Linked DNA regions of Homo sapiens: region 1 is linked to region 2. Evidence: promoter capture Hi-C in 16 types of primary human blood cells and fetal thymus (Javierre and others, 2016). All regions are on one chromosome and are shown on one strand. Each heading gives the region's core, a stretch centred on a gene start or on the middle of the fragment in contact. The rest is flanking DNA. Distances are from core to core; before and after follow the strand shown.

Region 1 (5,081 bases), core at 868-3,367, 41 kb after region 2:
GAGGAAACTCCTGGCTGATTTTTAAATTACACATTTTTAAACTACACAGTGATAATATTCCTGCTATGTAGATCCCTGAGAAGAAAACTCCTGGCTCATCAAACCTGGGAGATTTCAGACTGAAGCATAAGCTAAAGACATGTAAAGTAAGCAACTTTAGATGTCTTTCTCAACCTTTATACAGCCTATATAGAAGAGGATAAAAACCTATAGACAGCCAATTGTGCTGCTGCTGACATGCATGAGTGAGCATGGATCCCACTGCCAATGCCCTGATGAAGTGCTTGGCTGGCACCCCCCTATCAGAGTGTTGTTGTCAGTGGACTGGGAACACCTTGGCCCCTCCAATGAAGCTGGTACTAACCTTGAGAGGCCAGAGAGCAAAGCCAGGGTTGTAGACTTTTTAGCAGAAACCCTACACGCCAGATGAGATTAGAGGCCTATATTTAGCATTCTTAAAAAAAAGAAATTCCAACCAAGAATTTCACACCTGGTCAAGCTAAGCTTTGTAACTGAAGAAGAAATAAGATCTTTCTCAGGCAAGGAAATGCTAAGAGAATTCATTACCCCCCAGACCTGCCTTACAAGAGACCCTTAACAAAGTGCTAAATATGGAAATGAAAGATCAGTCACCACAAAGACACACATAAGTGCATAGACCATTGACACCATAAAGCAACTACACAATCAAATTTGCATAATAAGCAGCTAACACCACAATGACAGGATCAAATCCACACATATCAATATTAACTGTAAATGTAAATGGGCTAAATGCCCATTAAAAGGCACAGAGTGGCGAGTTAGATAAAGAAGCAAGACCCAGTGGTATGCTGTCTTCAAGAGACCCAGCTCACATGAAATGACACCCATAGGTTCAAAGTAAAGTGATGGAGGAAAATCTGTCAAGCAAACAGAAAACATAAAAAAGCAAAACAACTTTAAACCAACAATAATCCAAAAACACAAAGAAGAGCATTACATAATGATAAAGGATTCAATTCAACAAGTAGACTTAACTATCCTAAATATATGTGCATGTAACACAGGAGCACCCAGATACATAAAACAAGTTTTTAGAGACTTACAAAGAGACTTAGATAACTGCACAATAATGGGAGACTTCAACATTCCACTGACAGTATTAGATCATTGAAGCAGATAACAGTACTAGATCATTGAGGCAGAAAAGAAGTAGAACATTGAGGCAGAAAAAAGATATTTAAGACCTGAACTTGACACTTGACCAAATGGACCTAACAGACATGTACAGAACTCTCCACCCAAGACAACAGAATATATATTCTTCTCATCTGCACGTGGCACATACTCTAAAATCCACCACACAATCAGCAATCAATTTTCAGCAAATTAAAAAAAATTATACCAACCACAATAAAATAAAATAAATCAATACTAAGAAGATTGCACAAAACTATACAATTACATGGAAATTAAACCTCCTGCTCCTGAATGACTTTTGGGTAGACTATGAGATTAAGGCAGAAATCAAGAAATGTTTTGAAACTAATGAAAACAAATATACAACAAAGCACAATATCTGGGACACAGCCAAAGCAGTATTAAAAGGAAAGTTTATAGCATTAACTAAATTTCCACGTCAAAAAGTTGGAACATCTAAAATTAAATACCTAACATTAGACTTACAGGAACCAGAAAAACAACAGCAAACCAACCCCAAAGCTAGCAGAAGACAAGAAATAACTAAAATCAGAGCTGAACTGAAAGAAATTAAGATGTGACAGTCTATGTAAAAGATCAACAAACCAAAAGTTTTTTTTAAGAATAAATAATATTGATAGACCACTATCTGGATTAATAAAGAAAAAAAGAGAGAAGATCCAAACATAATCACAAATGACAAGGGTGACATTGCCACTGGCCCCACAGAAATTCAAAGCACCCTCAGAGATTGGTATAAATACCTCTATGCTCATGAACTAGAAACCTACAAGAAATGTATAAATTCCTGGAAGTATACAACCTCCCAAGGTTAAACCAGGAAGAAATTGAAATCCTGAACAGACCAATAACAAGTTCTATAATTAAGTAATAAAAAGCCTACCAACCAGAAAAAGTACTGGACCAGATAGATTCACGGCAAATTCTACCAGATATATAAAGAAGAGCTGGTAACATTCCTACTGAAACTATTTCAAAAAATTGAGGAGGAGGCACTCCTCCTTAACTCATTAATGAGGCCAGCATCATTCTGATAGCAAAACCTGGCAGAGACACAACAAAACAAAACAAAACAAAACAAAACAAAACAAAACAAAACATCAGGCCAATACCTTTGATGAACATAGATGCAAAAGTTCTCAACAAAATACTAGCAAACAAAATTCAGCAGCACATCAAAAAGCTAATCCACCACAGTCAAGTAGGCTTTACCCCTGGGATGCAAAGTTGGTTCAATGTACACAAATCAGTAAATGTGATTCATTACACAAGCATAACTAAAATTTAAAAACCACATAATTATCTCAATAGATGCTAAGAAAGGCTTTCAATAAAATTCAACATCCTTTCCTGTTAAAAACCCTCAACAAACTAAGCATTGAAACAACATACCTCAAAATAATAAGAGCCATCTATGACAAACCCACAGCCAACATCATATTAAATGGGTAAAGCTGGAAGTGTTCCCATTAAGAACTGGAACAAGACAAAGATGCCCATTCTCACCACTTCTATTCATCACAGTTCTGGAAGTCCTAGCCAGAGCAATCAGGCAAGAGAAAGAAAAAAAAAGGCATCCAAATAGGAAAAGAGGAAGTCAAATTATCTCTGTTTCCAGATGATGTAATTCTATATCTAGAAAACCTCATAATCTCTGCCCAAAAGCTCCCAGATCTGATAAACAATTAAAGTTTCAGGATACAAAATCAAAACAAAATCAATGCAAAAATTCAGTAGCATTTCTGTACGTTAACAGCATCGAAGCTGAGAGCCAAATCAAGAATGCAATACCATTCACAATAGCCACAAAAAGAACAAAAAAACCTAGGAATACAGCTAACCTGGGAGGTGAAAGATCTCTACAATAAGAATTACAAAACACTGTTGAAGGAAATCAGAGATAACACAGACAAATGGAAAAACATTCCATGCTCACGGATAGGGAGAATCAATATAGTTAAAATGGCCATACTACCTAAAGCAATTTACAGATTCAATGCTATTCCTGTCAAACTACCAATGATGCTTTTCACAAATTTAAAAATAAAATTCTAAAATTTATATGGAACCAAAAGAAGAGCCCAAGTAGCCAAAGCAATCCTAAGCAAAAAGGACAAAGCCCCCGAGGCATCATGTTACCTAACATCAAACTATTCTACAAGGCTACAGTAACCAAAACAGCATGGTAGTGGTACAAAAACAGACACATATACCAATGGAACAGAATAGAGGACTCAGAAAGAAAGGTACACGCCAATAATAATCTGCTCTTCAACAAAGTGGACAAAAATGAGTGATGGGGAAAGAACTTCCTATTCAATAAATAAATAAACAGTGCTGATATAACTGGACTTATTAGAGACTATTAAGAATTGAGAGCCTCTACAACAAATTATATACAATATCCAATTTTCAACTAGAATTACTAGGTTTTTAATGAATGAGAAAAGTGTAACAATTACAGAGGTGAAAAAAGCACCCACTAATAACCAACCCTAATTGAGTGCAAAAGTTGGAGGTAGTAGATAAAGCTTTCAACATAGCTATTATAAATATCCAAAAAAGTTAAGGAGAAATATGTTCAATGGATTAAAGGGAAATATACTAATAGTAAGTGAACAAATATGGAACATCCAGAGTGGTACAGGAACTATGACATGAAATTAAATAGAAAATCTAGAGCTAAAAAGTAAAATAAATGACAAATTTACTAAAATGACCTCAAAGTAGATTTGGTATGGCAGAAGAAAAAGCTCATAACATGAAGCTATATTAATAGAAATTACCCAATCTAAAGAACAGTGAGAAAAGTGGATAGAGCCTCAGAGACCTGTGGGACAATGTCAGTCATCCCAACATCCATGTAATTGATGATCCAAAAGGAAGGGGGCAGAGAAAATAGGATAAAAAATATGTGGAGAAATAGTGGCTAAAAATGTCTTAAGTTTGGCAAAAAATTTTGAGTTACAATTCCAAGAAGTTCAACAAATCTCAAGTGAAATAAACAAGAGAAAAATTACAACTTTTAGTCAAATTGCTGAAAAAGGATAAAGATAAAAGATAAAAAGAGATACTAAATGCACTGAGAAAATCATGACACATCACATAAGAGACAAAAAAGATACATTAAATTGCTGACTTCTCATTAGAAATAATATTAATAGAGTCCCAAAACATTGGAAAGTCATATTCAAATTAGTACATGAAAAAAAATCTTTTGACTAAGAATTTTATATCCAACAAAACTATCCCACAAAAAAAGGAGGGGCAAAAGAAAGGCATTTTCAGATAACCAAAAACAAATAAATTGTTTTTAGCAGACCTGTTCTCTTAGGCATGAAGGTCTTTATGTAGCATTTCCATATTAAGGAATTTTTTTAAATGAACAAAAGAAAAATTACAACCTTTAGTCAAATTGCTGAAAGATAAAAAGATAAAGATAACAGATAAAAAAAAGAGATACTAAATGCACTGAGAGAAAAATGACATATCACTTAAGAGGCGAAAAAGGTACATTAAATTGTTGACTTCTCATTACAAATAATATTAATAGGTGTATCACCTAGGGTCAAATCATGAGACAGAATCTATACAGTAATTTGAGAAGAGAAAGTTTAATATTAAGAGTTATTAACTATCACAAAGGATTGGAGTAACAGGGTATTGATGAGTAAGAAGTAAAGTAATATAAGGAGCAGCCACTACTTCTAAGGTTGAGATAGAATATCCAAAGAAGAAATCCCCTAGCCAGGGCTGAAATCAAGACTTGTGACCTTTTGTGTTTGGTTGCTTTCAGTTAGCATAAATTCTGTCAGCTTATTCATATTCAACCATGTATAATAGTGTATAGTAGGAATAACAGAGTCCCAAAACATTGG
Region 2 (5,723 bases), core at 2,567-5,066:
ACTGGGAAAAAGGAGATTGGGGCATATGAGGAGGGCAGGAGGAAGAAAGATTTAAGATCTTTTGGGGGCTTTAATCCAAGTAATCACTTAAAGAATTGGCAGTTTTTAGCACCTCTAGGATCCAATTTTAGGTTATATGTCATTGGAAATCCAAAAGATACAGGAAACACCGTACTGCCTATGAACATCTAGCTGAGGAGGTAAGACATGCACAGCTGAGAAAGAGGACAGGTGAGCCTTTGGTCACTTGCAAATTGGGGTCAGAACTGCTCCATGGTGTGGATGGCATGGAAAAGAATTGGCTTCACTTACGAGTGCTTTAGGTAATTCATTCTGTACTGTGTTGGGCCCACAATGCATGTTCAGCAATTTTACTTAATACTCAACCAGGTAAAACAGCAGATTCCAGGATACCTCAGCACATCCTTACAATTCTGCACTTTAAGGGCAATTTGATTTTGCCATGGTTTCTCTTGCAATGTTAAAGGTTGGAGACAGGGCAGAGTGAAAGGTATTCTCTCTTAATGCTCCAGTTACACATAAAGGGTAGGTGTTCCTATTTCCTGCTCCCCTGCCTATATTATAGATAAGAAAACGGAGGCTCAGGGAGGTTGGGTTACTTGCTTAAGGTCACCCAGCTGCGAATCTGCCTCATTCCAAGGTCTGTGCTCGCTTGGTTATTCCAAAGAGCCTGAGAGGCTGAGTGTTTGGAAGCAGGACAAGCCTAGCTCTGAAACAGGTATGGGTAGGAGGACCGGGTCAGGTTGGGCCAAGAGCTGTGGGAGGAGCTGGGAACTGAGGGGCTCAGGACTCTGAGGCTGTTTTGGTGCTAAATAAAACAAAATAACAACATAGCACCATAATAAAACTTGTAGATTATTATTAATCAATTAATCAATACTCTGTTGAAATAGGAAAAATTCAAGGACAGATGAATTTCTACGTTGTTTTCTGCTCCCGGACCATCCCAACTGCTTTGCTAGGGCCCAGTCACTGTCTCCAGCTGAAGTCAGTTTTCCTTGAACTTACTGATGTTGATCTTACAGAGTTATAAGTTACGCTTATCACTGTGAAGACTGGCTGCAGCCAGCAGAGCTCGCTATGGTAGGCAATGGCTCATCTGAATCCAGCGCACATCTTGTTTTGAATTCCGCATAGGCTCAATTATGAGAGGCCTTCAAGGGAGCCTTATTTTGGGGGTGGCTTTATTCTTTTTCCCCATGCCGGGCACAGGCAGAAGCATCTCTCGGTGTGATCATCTTGCAGGCCGCTGGGCAGGTTTACAGCTTTTCCGACACTTCACAGAGAACTGCTGCTTACAGTATAATTTCTTTTTTAATATACACAAGACTGGAAATTAGGCATGAATGACAATGTGATCACATCTTAGGACGAGCGAAGGAAAGTCCCGAGAATGGAAGCTTTTGCAGGAGCTCACAGCTAGGGAGGCATGAAGCCCAGGCTGGAGTGTTCTGGTTGGAAATCAGTGTGATGCTCAGCTCCCTGCACAGCCTCACCTGGACCACCACCTTCCACCCGCTCACATCTCCCGTCCTCTGAGCTTCACTGCTCATGGCAGGCTTCCTCCACGGTGCCTTCCTGCCAGTGTGACCCACTCGGACCTTTCCCTGCCACGGCTGTGCTGCTCACACAAACGCTTGCTGCCCCCAGGTTTTGATGCTGGGACACCTACTAGGTTGATTAGTCTCTGTAGTTTGCACATGTTGTTCTCCCACCAAGTCAGGCTCTGTGCGTTACCCATGCTGCTAGCACAGCGCTTGGCACACGCATATTTTGAGTTGAGAACTTACTTTAAAACCATCTTCCAAATTTTGTACCCTGGCGGCTCATAGTCAGAGAACAGAGAAGTTAAGACTTTAGGACTCCACCACACTTTAAGGCCCACTGGGTGGGTCTGCACCAGCGCTTGCCTGTCTGTTCACACGTTCTCTCTCCCTGGGCCTGGACACGTCCTTCCTCACTTCTCACACTCAGCACTGTGTCCTTGCCCAAGTACAGACTCTCTTCCACTGCCCCCGCATCCCAAGGGAGCCCAGGATTGCTGCCCGTCTATGCACCTGTAGCTGTTTGTTCTTATTTCTACAACGGCATTATTCACATGAAAACCCTGCAGATGGATCTGAGTTCCTTAGGATAAGACCTGCCCTGACCATGTCTGAGGCTGAGCCCTGCAGACAACCTGGCCCACAGCAATTATATTTGCCTAATGAAGGCAAGGAATGTGGCTTACACAGACAAGAAAGCTCTCATTAAAATGTATTAGACACTAAGGATTCCATAGGAAACATACCTGGGATCATTAACAAGGTAAAGAATAGGATTTTTTTTTTTTTTTAAGATGTCTTAAGTTGCTCTGAGGCAGTGAGAGGGCAATTTGCTGCTGAGCAAAAACCTCCTCTGCCAGAGATTCAGGATCCACTGAGAAGTCAGGATGGCTTTGGAGCTTATCTACCCCATTACCCTGGTTCATGCCCTCCTCCACCCCTGCCGCGGCCTAAGCGGTGTCCCAAAGGCAGGGTGAGGGCTCCCGTCTCCCTGCTCCCACAGCTCTTTGTGGGTGTGTGTCCTGTCTGGGAGCTAGTGTGAAGTGTTGTCTCAGTGTGCGCTGTCCTCAGCGCCGGGGCTCCAGGAGGCTCCACTCTGACTTAGGCTTGCAACAAGGCCCAGCACATAAGGGTTCGGTACAGCTTGATCTAGGCATGAATGTGTGAGCAGAGCCTGTGACCACCGCTTCACTCCCACTCCGGGGATGGGGTGGGGAGGGCATGTGAGGAGCACTCCTCCTTCTGATCTGCTCAAGGCTGTACTCTCTGGACCCCTTTGTACCCCTTTCCCATTCCTATCCCTTTTGGACTTTTTGCATGCATGTATGTATGTATGTTTACAAGTGTGCACGTGTATGTGTGTATATGTGTGTGTATGAGTGTGTGTGTGTAAGTGAAGAATGGGGACAGTTATCTGAAGGCAGCTTAGACAAACTGAAATATGAAGAAGAGCTGTTTAATCGAATGCCTGGGCCTCTTTTCTAGGTAACATGTGCCCCCCGACAGAGCCAGCCAAAGGAAGGTGTGAGCCCCTCATGATGGCAGTGACTGCATGCTTTCTGGGTGCAAACACTTTGCAGGAGTATGTGATAATCAGTATGCTTTTAGTTATTGTTTATCCTGCACCCCGTGTTGCTGCCTAGGAAGGTGGAGGCTGACTGAGCTAGTGGTTGAGAAAGGCACAGAAAGTGTGCGTGCATCTCCCAGAACTGTAACGTCACACGTGTGGATGGTGGAGTTGCTTAGACACCAATGCCTGAGGTTCAGGAAGCTGCCGCATGCCCACGTCTTTGTGGCGCTAAAACCCCCGCACTCTTACACCTAGACAAGCTGATCAGGTGAAGGGGCTAACTCCAGAAGTGATAATAGAAGCATGATTTGTTTCACCCCTAATTCTATTAGGAAAAAACTGGCTGTAGTCCTTGAATAGAGCTCAATGACAATTTGAAGAGTACTAGAGAAGCCAATAAATTCATTAATAGGGAAGATTGTTTTAGCTAGACAAAAAGGTAATAGCCTTCATTGTAGTAGTTTAATTAGAAAAATAATAAACTCCCTTAGGAAGGATGAAAGCCCATAATTAAAAAGATGAGCTATTTGGAGGAATTCTGAATAGTACCTCTTCTCAGATTTGTTCCTAGCTGCTCTATTCATGGTCCAAAAGCACTTAGCAAGCTGAGGAATTAGTGGAAAATGTACTTACCTTCAGCTCTGAAGCAGGAACTTTCTGGGCAAAATGAATGAGAAGGAATGAGCTCGGAGAGAAAAGCAAGCAAGTGGACCTTGGGCCGGGAAGGGCCGGAACACATGCATCACCGGAGATACAGCTAGATTGTTATCATTACCTTGAATAAATGTCATCCCACATGAACTGTGCATTTCTGGTAATGTGAAGTTAGAGAAATGGAAAGACACAGGCAGATGAAGACATAATTTCCATGAGCTCAGCTAGTCAAGGTTACTTCCAATGTTTATGACAATGTTTCTAGCAGATTATGGAATTGTCATCTTGCTCTTTTTAAATGCCACTTTAGAGTTGCATTTATTTCCAAAAAGAACTAAGGAATTAAATAAATCAGGTTTTTGAGAAAATGGTTTTGGAAGAATTTGTTTTAAAACTTCTAGCAAACTTCTTGATATATCTTGCAAATATTTGGCTCATTAGTTTCATTAAGAAGAAGGGAATAGCCCCATTATCCCTATTTCACAAGACTAAACAATGAGAGTGAGGGAACTGTGTGCTCAAGTGCACATATGACGCATGGGTCCAGACAAGAAAAAAACCCTGTGTTCTGCCAATGCTTCTCCGTCCAAAAACTTCACAGAAACCGCCATAGATAAGAGCCATCATTCAAAGCAAAATTCTTCCATTTTAGGGTGCAATGCTGTGTGTTTTCTGCCTGCCGGGGCCTGCAGGGAAGGGCTACTGTTGGTGTCAGTCACAGCAACAGGAATGTTGAAGTGTGGAATTGGGCCAAGTTTCCAGATGGTCCTGGGTTTTTGGGGCTGGGGCCAAACCAGTGGCTGTTTCTGAAATGTGAGCTTCCGCCCCAAGCTAAAAAGTGTTCACACGTGGGTGGTCTGGAAAAGACCAAAGAGAGAGACCTGAGTTGAATTTGCCAGGCGGGTAAACACAATTTTATAAAGTGGCTTTTCCTGGCCTGTCACTGAGGCAAAGCGTGTTGTCCCCAGGAACTCATGGACCCAGGATCATCCCAGACTTCGACTGTTTCTGAGTAGGTGTGTGCCTCCGCAACATGCCCTGCAGCTGAAACCCGGCGTTCCACAGGCCTCTTTCCCTCTTCAGTCATGTAGTTGAGATAACAGAGAAAAGCAAGGCATTGCCTCCAGAAAGCTACTGTATTATCTGGAAAAGTAGAGACAACTCGTCCTTAGCCCTTGTACTTGCAGAAGCAGAGGCCCTTTGTCAGAGATCTGTGGATCTGATTAGCTGATTGGGAAAACCGGTGGCCAGCCCTGGGGAGTGGGACATCAGGCAGGCTGCAGACAATGGGAACACTGTCTGGAGGAGGCGAGCCTCGGCCAGTCCCCTGGGTGGGACCTGGGCCACTCTGATTGGGAGGGACAGGGAGAGACTTCCAGCAGGGGGAAGGTTGCCTAGGGGTTTGGCTAAGCCCTGCAAAGAGAGTAGCTATTGCTATTTTAGTTCTTCCATTTTGGGGGCTCATCTCTCTCCAATTTTTAGAGAAAAGGGGGCAAAAATCTCTTGGAAGGAGCAGAGTAGAAATGACAGAGTTTAGAACCAGAAGACACGCGGTCAGAGTTCTGAGTGCCAGGCCTCTAGGACTCCATTGCCTGGTGTAAAGCGGGCTGTTGTGAGAATTCAGACTAGGTTTGTAACAGTGCTCAGGGAAATCTAAAACCATATGCCAATACCTATGGTTTTTGTTATAACCCTGTCCAAACACTCTTGAAATAGTGGTATTTTAAAAGAAATATCTTTGCTGTAGGGAAACCCATTCAGCTGGTGATCATTGGAAAGCAAACTTGTAAGTGGAGATGCTGGTAGATGAACTCTGATGACCATGTTACAACTGCGCCACCATTCCGTCACCAGCCCAGTCTCTCTCTCATCCCAAGAGATACGATGGAAAAGGGGAATTTTAGGGAGCATTCAAAGGGCTTCTGTATGCACCC

Evidence for each region. The method cuts DNA at HindIII sites, captures the fragments that hold promoters and counts their contacts. A CHiCAGO score of 5 or more calls a contact.
Region 1: a contact is called between a fragment that was not itself captured here and the fragment with the promoter of MC2R in region 2, in 1 of 17 cell types (neutrophils). The highest score is 7.8, in neutrophils.

The regions. Positions count from the first base shown.
Region 1 is chr18:13,954,671-13,959,751 of GRCh38, forward strand. No RefSeq gene overlaps it. Among named protein-coding and RNA genes, the nearest start is that of MC2R, 42 kb to the left of the region's middle. The HindIII fragment of the contact is 3,230 bases long and covers 503-3,732 here.
Region 2 is chr18:13,911,720-13,917,442 of GRCh38, forward strand. It overlaps MC2R (melanocortin 2 receptor), which reads right to left and starts at 3,817. Exons shown (of 2, transcript NM_000529.2): 1 at 3,769-3,817. The HindIII fragment of the contact is 17,945 bases long and covers 1,420-5,723 here.